Linked DNA regions of Homo sapiens: region 1 is linked to region 2. Evidence: promoter capture Hi-C in 16 types of primary human blood cells and fetal thymus (Javierre and others, 2016). All regions are on one chromosome and are shown on one strand. Each heading gives the region's core, a stretch centred on a gene start or on the middle of the fragment in contact. The rest is flanking DNA. Distances are from core to core; before and after follow the strand shown. Region 1 has its middle 54 kb from the start of LINC02694. Region 2 holds the start of LINC02694 (long intergenic non-protein coding RNA 2694).

Region 1 (3,084 bases), core at 494-2,993, 54 kb before region 2:
AATGTATTATTTACTATAGTTACCATGTTGTATAATAGATTTCATAAACTTTTTCTTCCTAACTGAAATTTCACAGCCTTTGACCAACAATCTCCCCAACCCACCCCAATCACCTCAGTCTCTTGTAACCACCGTTCTACTCTCTACTTCTATGAGATCAACTTTTTTAGATTTCACATGTGAGTAAGATCATGCAGTATTTATCTTTCTGTGCCTGACTTATTTCACTTGACATAATGTCTTCCAGTTTCATCGTGTTGTTGCAAATGATAGGATTTCCTTCTCCTTTATGACTGAATAGTATTCCGTTGTGTGTATATATACTACAAGGGTATCCAATCTTTTGGCTTCCACAAGCCACATTGGAAGAGTAAGAATTGTCTTGGGCCACACATAAAATACACTAACACTAACAATAGCTCATAAGCTAAAACACAAATTGCAAAAAAAAAATCATAATGTTTTAAGAAAGTTTACGAATTTGTGTTGGGCTGCATTCAAAACCATCCTTGGCTGCATGCAGCCCATGGGCCACAGGTTAGACAAGCTTATACCTCATTCAAAACATCTCTTCATCCACTGATGGACACCTAGGTTGATTCCATATCTTGGCTCTTGGGCATAATGCTGCAACAAGCATGGGAGTGAGGATATCTCTTTGACACGCTGATTTTATTTCCTTGGGATATAAACCGAGTAGTGGGATTGCTGGCTGGATCATATGGTAGTTCTATTTTTAATTTTTTGAGAAACCTTTATACTGTTTTCCATAATAGTAGTGTTAATTTACATTCCTATCAACAGTTTGTGAGGTTTCTCTTTACTCCACATCCTTGCAAATTAACTTTTGCCTTTTTGGTGATAACCATTCTAACAGTTGTTAGCCTCACCTAAATATTCTTAATTATATCAGTTATCAGCTGTCACAATAATAATGCATAACAAACAGCCACAAAACCTCAGTGGCATACAGTGATGCTTTTGTCAGTGGTTAGGGTACCCACCAGGGCTACTGTGAGACAGACTTGAGCCAAAATCCCATTCATTGCTTGACTTCCATAAAATCCTGCTGATTGATGGATCACAGTGGTGCTTTAGATCTACAGTAATTAGTGGATGTCCAGTATTCACTGAAAAGCCTGATCATTTTTCCTTCTCCAATGCACAATTTCCTGGATAAAGGCCATAAGTCCCTTTGGGGAGAGCTAAGAGGAAGATTTAGTATCTGTATTTTTTGTCTGGGTAGCATGGTCCTTACTCAAGGGGACTCAGTCTCTTCTTTATTCAAGGAGTTCTGGGTCTGTGAACTGGCTCAAGGTTGGGAATTGGTTGTTACTTAGATTTCTGTTGTTGAAAACTGGTAAAATAATTCAGTTCATTTGTTGTTTATTGTACCTCCTCTTAAGTCACACTTTGTATCTTGACCACATGAGTCTTCTTCACACAGAAACCCACTGAGATTTAGGTCTAGTAAAGGAGCAGTGAATGGTGGTGGGATTAGGGCTGGAGGAAGATCAAGCAAGGCAAAATATCTCAGGAGTTCCAGCAAGGCAATATATCTCAGGAGAGGTAATGATAGGCTCTTCAGATAAGAGGAGACTAATCTCCTTAGGGGAAGAAGGGCTGCCTCTATTGGCAAAGGAGAGTTAAGAGAGTTAAGGGGTTTGAATCTACCAGCTTCATTAGGATTTACCCATATATTCACATCCCAATACTCAGGATTGCATTCTCTATCAATTAAAAAGTATTGGTTATTTTTGTTGTTGTTTTTTTTTTTTTTTGAGACGGAGTCTCGCTCTGTCACCCAGGCTGGGTTGCAGTGGCGCGATCTCAGCTCACTGCAAGCTCCACCTCCCAGGTTCATGCCATTCTCCTGCCTCAGCCTCCCGAGTAGCTGTGACTACAGGTGCCTGCTACCACGCCCGGCTATTTTTTTTATATTTTTAGTAGAGACAGGGTTTCACCATGTTAGCCAGGATGGTCTCGATCTCCTGACCTTGTGATCCACCCGCCTGGGCCTCCCAAAGTACTGGGATTACAGGCGTGAGCCACTGTGCCCTGCCTAAAAAATACTTTTAGAGATAATGTCTCAGTGTGTTATCCAGGCTGGAGTGCAGTAGTAAAATAGCTCACTGCAGCCTCAAACTCTTGGGCTCAAACAATTGTCCCACGTCAGCCTCCTGAGCAGCTGGGACTACAGTCATGCTTCACTACATCTGAATAATTTTTTAAACTTTTTTTGTAGAGATGCGGTCTTGCTGTGTTGTCTGGGCTGTTCTGGAACTTCTGGCCTCAAGCAATTCTCCTGCCTCAGCCTCCTGAAGTGCTAAATTACAGGTGTGAACCACTACACTCAGCCTCTTTACCAGTTAATATCCTAACTTTAACATAGGAGACTCTATGAGGAAGGGAAGTCAATTTGCATTGTAAGTCAGCCACCTGCTGTTCTAGACTTTGGGTGTGGCTTTTGAAAATCTTAGCCCTAAGGCAGAAGAAGATAAAAGTTTCTTTTAGGGTAGTCATATATTTGAGGCCCCTTATGTAGATCTTGAGCTGGGAATTTAGTCCTGAGCTGTTTTTTTGTTTTCTACACATTTTCAAGCACATTTAGAAGCAAACAACAAAACCACTCTTAGTACCAATTTTTGTATTAGTCAGGGTTCAATCAGAGAAGGAGAAACAACTATGAGTGATTTTGTTATTATATAATAAGAAATTTCTTATAGAAATTTGACCTTATGGAATTGTGGGCGTTGTTAGTTTATGTGCATGTTTTGCACGTGCATAACACAAGCTATTGTGCATATGTGCATGTACCCCAAATACACAGAATATCTTTAGTTCTGGCAAAAGGGTAGACTAAGATAACCTGAAACTCTCCCGCTACAAATTGTGAGAGAAGCCAAATAAGGTGTGTAAAAATTTTTTTGAAATATTTGCTAAGCTTGCCAGAAAAAAAGGAAATCCCTAGATCCCAGAAAAGAAGATGGAGTTGAAAACCAGATTAGTAAACTTGTGATCTGACACGTGGCTGCCCTTGGAGTGAAGATTATGGGTTCCTGCAACCTGGGGCTTAGCTTTAAG
Region 2 (2,799 bases), core at 85-2,584:
ATGACAGCATGTTGGATACTTCAAGAAGGTACAAGGTCCTTTCCACGGAAGTTTTGCTAAAAGTGGATCAGGAACAAGAGGTGAATTATGTAACTTTGCTTCAGAAGCCACATCTACCTGTAATCAGCCATCAGAGGCTGAGGAAGGTCAGATTATCTTGTGTCTTCCTTATCATCGCCATCACTATCAGCAGCAGCAGCAGCAGCAGCAGCAGCAGCAGCAGAGTTCTCTGTCACACTCTATTACTAAAGCTAAAGATTGCATGTGATTATAGATATTTATTATTCTGGTCATTGTCATGGTGATCTTTGCGGAAAGATATTAGAGGAAAACTCCCTCCTAGTCATATCTGGAGGCCAATGTCCTTAAACAGAAAACTGGGGTCATACCCTGTAAAACCTATCAGACCAAGTAATCCAGAGCTGGGATGGGGGCAGGATCTCTTTAGAGTAAGACTTGCCTTCCAAGCCACATAACTGTCATCTGGAGCTTGTCACTGCTGACAATTTTCCTCCTTGCTGCCAGCTTGCTCTGTATCACGCAGGGCTATCATCAGTAACTTAGCCCTAAGAGGGGTACAGGAAAGATTAAAAAAAGGAATGCTATATTTGTGGGGGAATCATTCTCTAAAAGTCTCCCTTGCCAGCAAATTTTAAGTGGTAGGAGCAGTGGTTGTCACCACAGCTGGCACTTTGGGTTTTGTGGTGTGAAGCAAAGGCTTTTTAACTGAGAGAGGACTGGTGCCCATTCCTGGTGGCAGCTCCTGCCACTGGAAGCCTGGTTGGCCAGAATGTGATGCTGTGATGGGGACTGCATCTGGATCCCAGCTGTCAGGACCTGGCTTCCAGATCTGAATTCTAGAGCAGAGGGAGGGAAGGCAGAACACCTACCAGCACACTAATGTTTCAAGTTTGGCCTAGAGCAAAGAGCCTGAGTTGCTGTTGGCCAAACGTTGGCCTGTGTTTGTCAGACTGGGCTGAAGACTTCCTCCCTGGTCTATCCTTCACCTCTTATGCCACAGTTTTGGGAAACACTGTGCTCAGCAAGCTGAACTGCTTCTTGGGTGTGCGACTAGGGTGCCAGCCAGGCCAGGGACGTCCAGGACTGGAAGAAATGCAGGGGCAGGACCACAGCACAGGCTGATCAGGAGGCTGCCCCACCAGGAGCTCTGCTGAAGGCTGCATCCTCTCTGCTGAGAGTCAACCACTGTGCTGACTCACCATCCTTGTGGTTGAGAACCCATCAGCAAATTGGTGGCTCTGATGAGCCCTGGAGCTGCAAAATATAGGCCGGGGTACCTCAGCCGGAAGGGACTTCAGTTAGTGACAGGTTTTCTGTTCTGATATGGAGCTACAAGGGGCCCAAGAGGACCTGGGCATTTCCCTCTCTAGTCCCCGGAGGAACCATGAAACCAGGCCAGGAAGCAAGGCTAAGGGCAGGAGCAGCATCTGTCTCCAGGCGTCTGTTTGGATGGCTGTAAGTCCCACCTTGCTCTGTTTTTTTCTGCTATGGCTGAACCTGGATCTAGCAGGGTTCTCAGTTTCTGCTATGGCTGAACCTGGATCTCAGTCCCCTGGTGAGCTTAGCTCCTGCCTCCCAGAGAACTGGAATGACCTTATTCAGACACCTCCAGCCTGTATAAGTCAGGGGCAAGGACTGGGGAGTCAAGAGGGTTAAGGGAGTGAGAGGTGAGAGTTACAATCTACATTGTATTTTATGTCAACAGCATCCCCTGGAGTACTGCAAAGCTCTAAGTCAGATATCCCAGTGGGGGGCATCACCCATCCTAGACTTTCTCCCCTGCCCCATGCCCCTTATACCAACATCAATTCAGCACATAGCACTGTACTTGGCCATTAAGATAGTAAATAAATGCCTGGTGAATAGTTTGATAGACAGAAAGATGCCCACTCCCCCAACCCAAAGATGTTTACATTCTCATTCCTAGAAACTGTAAATATGTTATCTTAATAGCAAACAGGATTTTGCAAGTGTGGTTAACATTAAGGATCTTGAGATAAAGAGATTATCCTGGATTATCCGAATGGGCCTAATCTAATCCTAAAAAGCAGACAGGCTTCCCTGGGTGCAGTCAGAGACAGAAATGCAGCTAGGGGAATTGGAGTCAAAGAGAGGGCCATGAGAGAAGGATTCCATGCCCTGTGGCTGGTTCTGAGAGGTAGGGACTCTATGTAAGGACAGAGCAAATGTCTTCTAGGAGTTCAGGGTGGCCCCAGTTAGCAACCAGCAAGGACCTCAGTCTTACAGTCCCACGGAACTGTCAAGACCAGAATGAGCAAAGATAGTGATGCACCCCCAGAGCTGCCACCAAGGAACGCTGTCCTGCCGAGACGTTGATTTTAGTCCTATGAGACCCATAGGACTTCTGGCCCATAGAACTAAATGATAGTGTGTGTTTTAAGCTGCTAAAGTTTTGGTAATTTATTATAGTAGCAACCGATAATAGAAATGGCTATAAAATGGAATGTATTTTGTAACTGAACATAATTTTCTTGCCTCTGGTGTCCCTAATTTCCTTGGTGGCTGGCAGTCATAGAGAAGTCCTTTTCCATGGTTAGCTGTGTGCCAGTGACGGGGAGGGCATCCTTACTCTGGTCTCAAGTGCTTCTTGGCACCCCTGGGTTTACTTTTTTGCTGATGTCCCCTGGCATAGGTGTTGCTAGAAGCTGGCGTTTTTAGGAAGCACGTAGAACTCTCTGCTCCTTCATAGTCAGTCAGTGGCTCCATCCCAGGCAGGTGCTCCAGACCCATCCCATTCATTAGTCATCTATTCTGTAC

The links. Contacts are between HindIII fragments. The CHiCAGO score rates a contact against its expected background, and 5 or more counts as called.
Region 1: a fragment that was not itself captured here is called in contact with the fragment with the promoter of LINC02694 in region 2 in 3 of 17 cell types (naive CD4 T cells, non-activated CD4 T cells and activated CD4 T cells); the score reaches 6.2 in naive CD4 T cells.

What each region holds. Positions count from the first base shown.
Region 1 is chr15:38,640,670-38,643,753 of GRCh38, forward strand. No RefSeq gene overlaps it. Among named protein-coding and RNA genes, the nearest start is that of LINC02694, 54 kb to the right of the region's middle. The HindIII fragment of the contact is 2,397 bases long and covers 546-2,942 here.
Region 2 is chr15:38,695,264-38,698,062 of GRCh38, forward strand. It overlaps LINC02694 (long intergenic non-protein coding RNA 2694), which reads left to right and starts at 1,335. Exons shown (of 2, transcript NR_160786.1): 1 at 1,335-1,476. RefSeq lists an enhancer at 1,445-1,494. The HindIII fragment of the contact is 8,690 bases long and covers 1-2,799 here.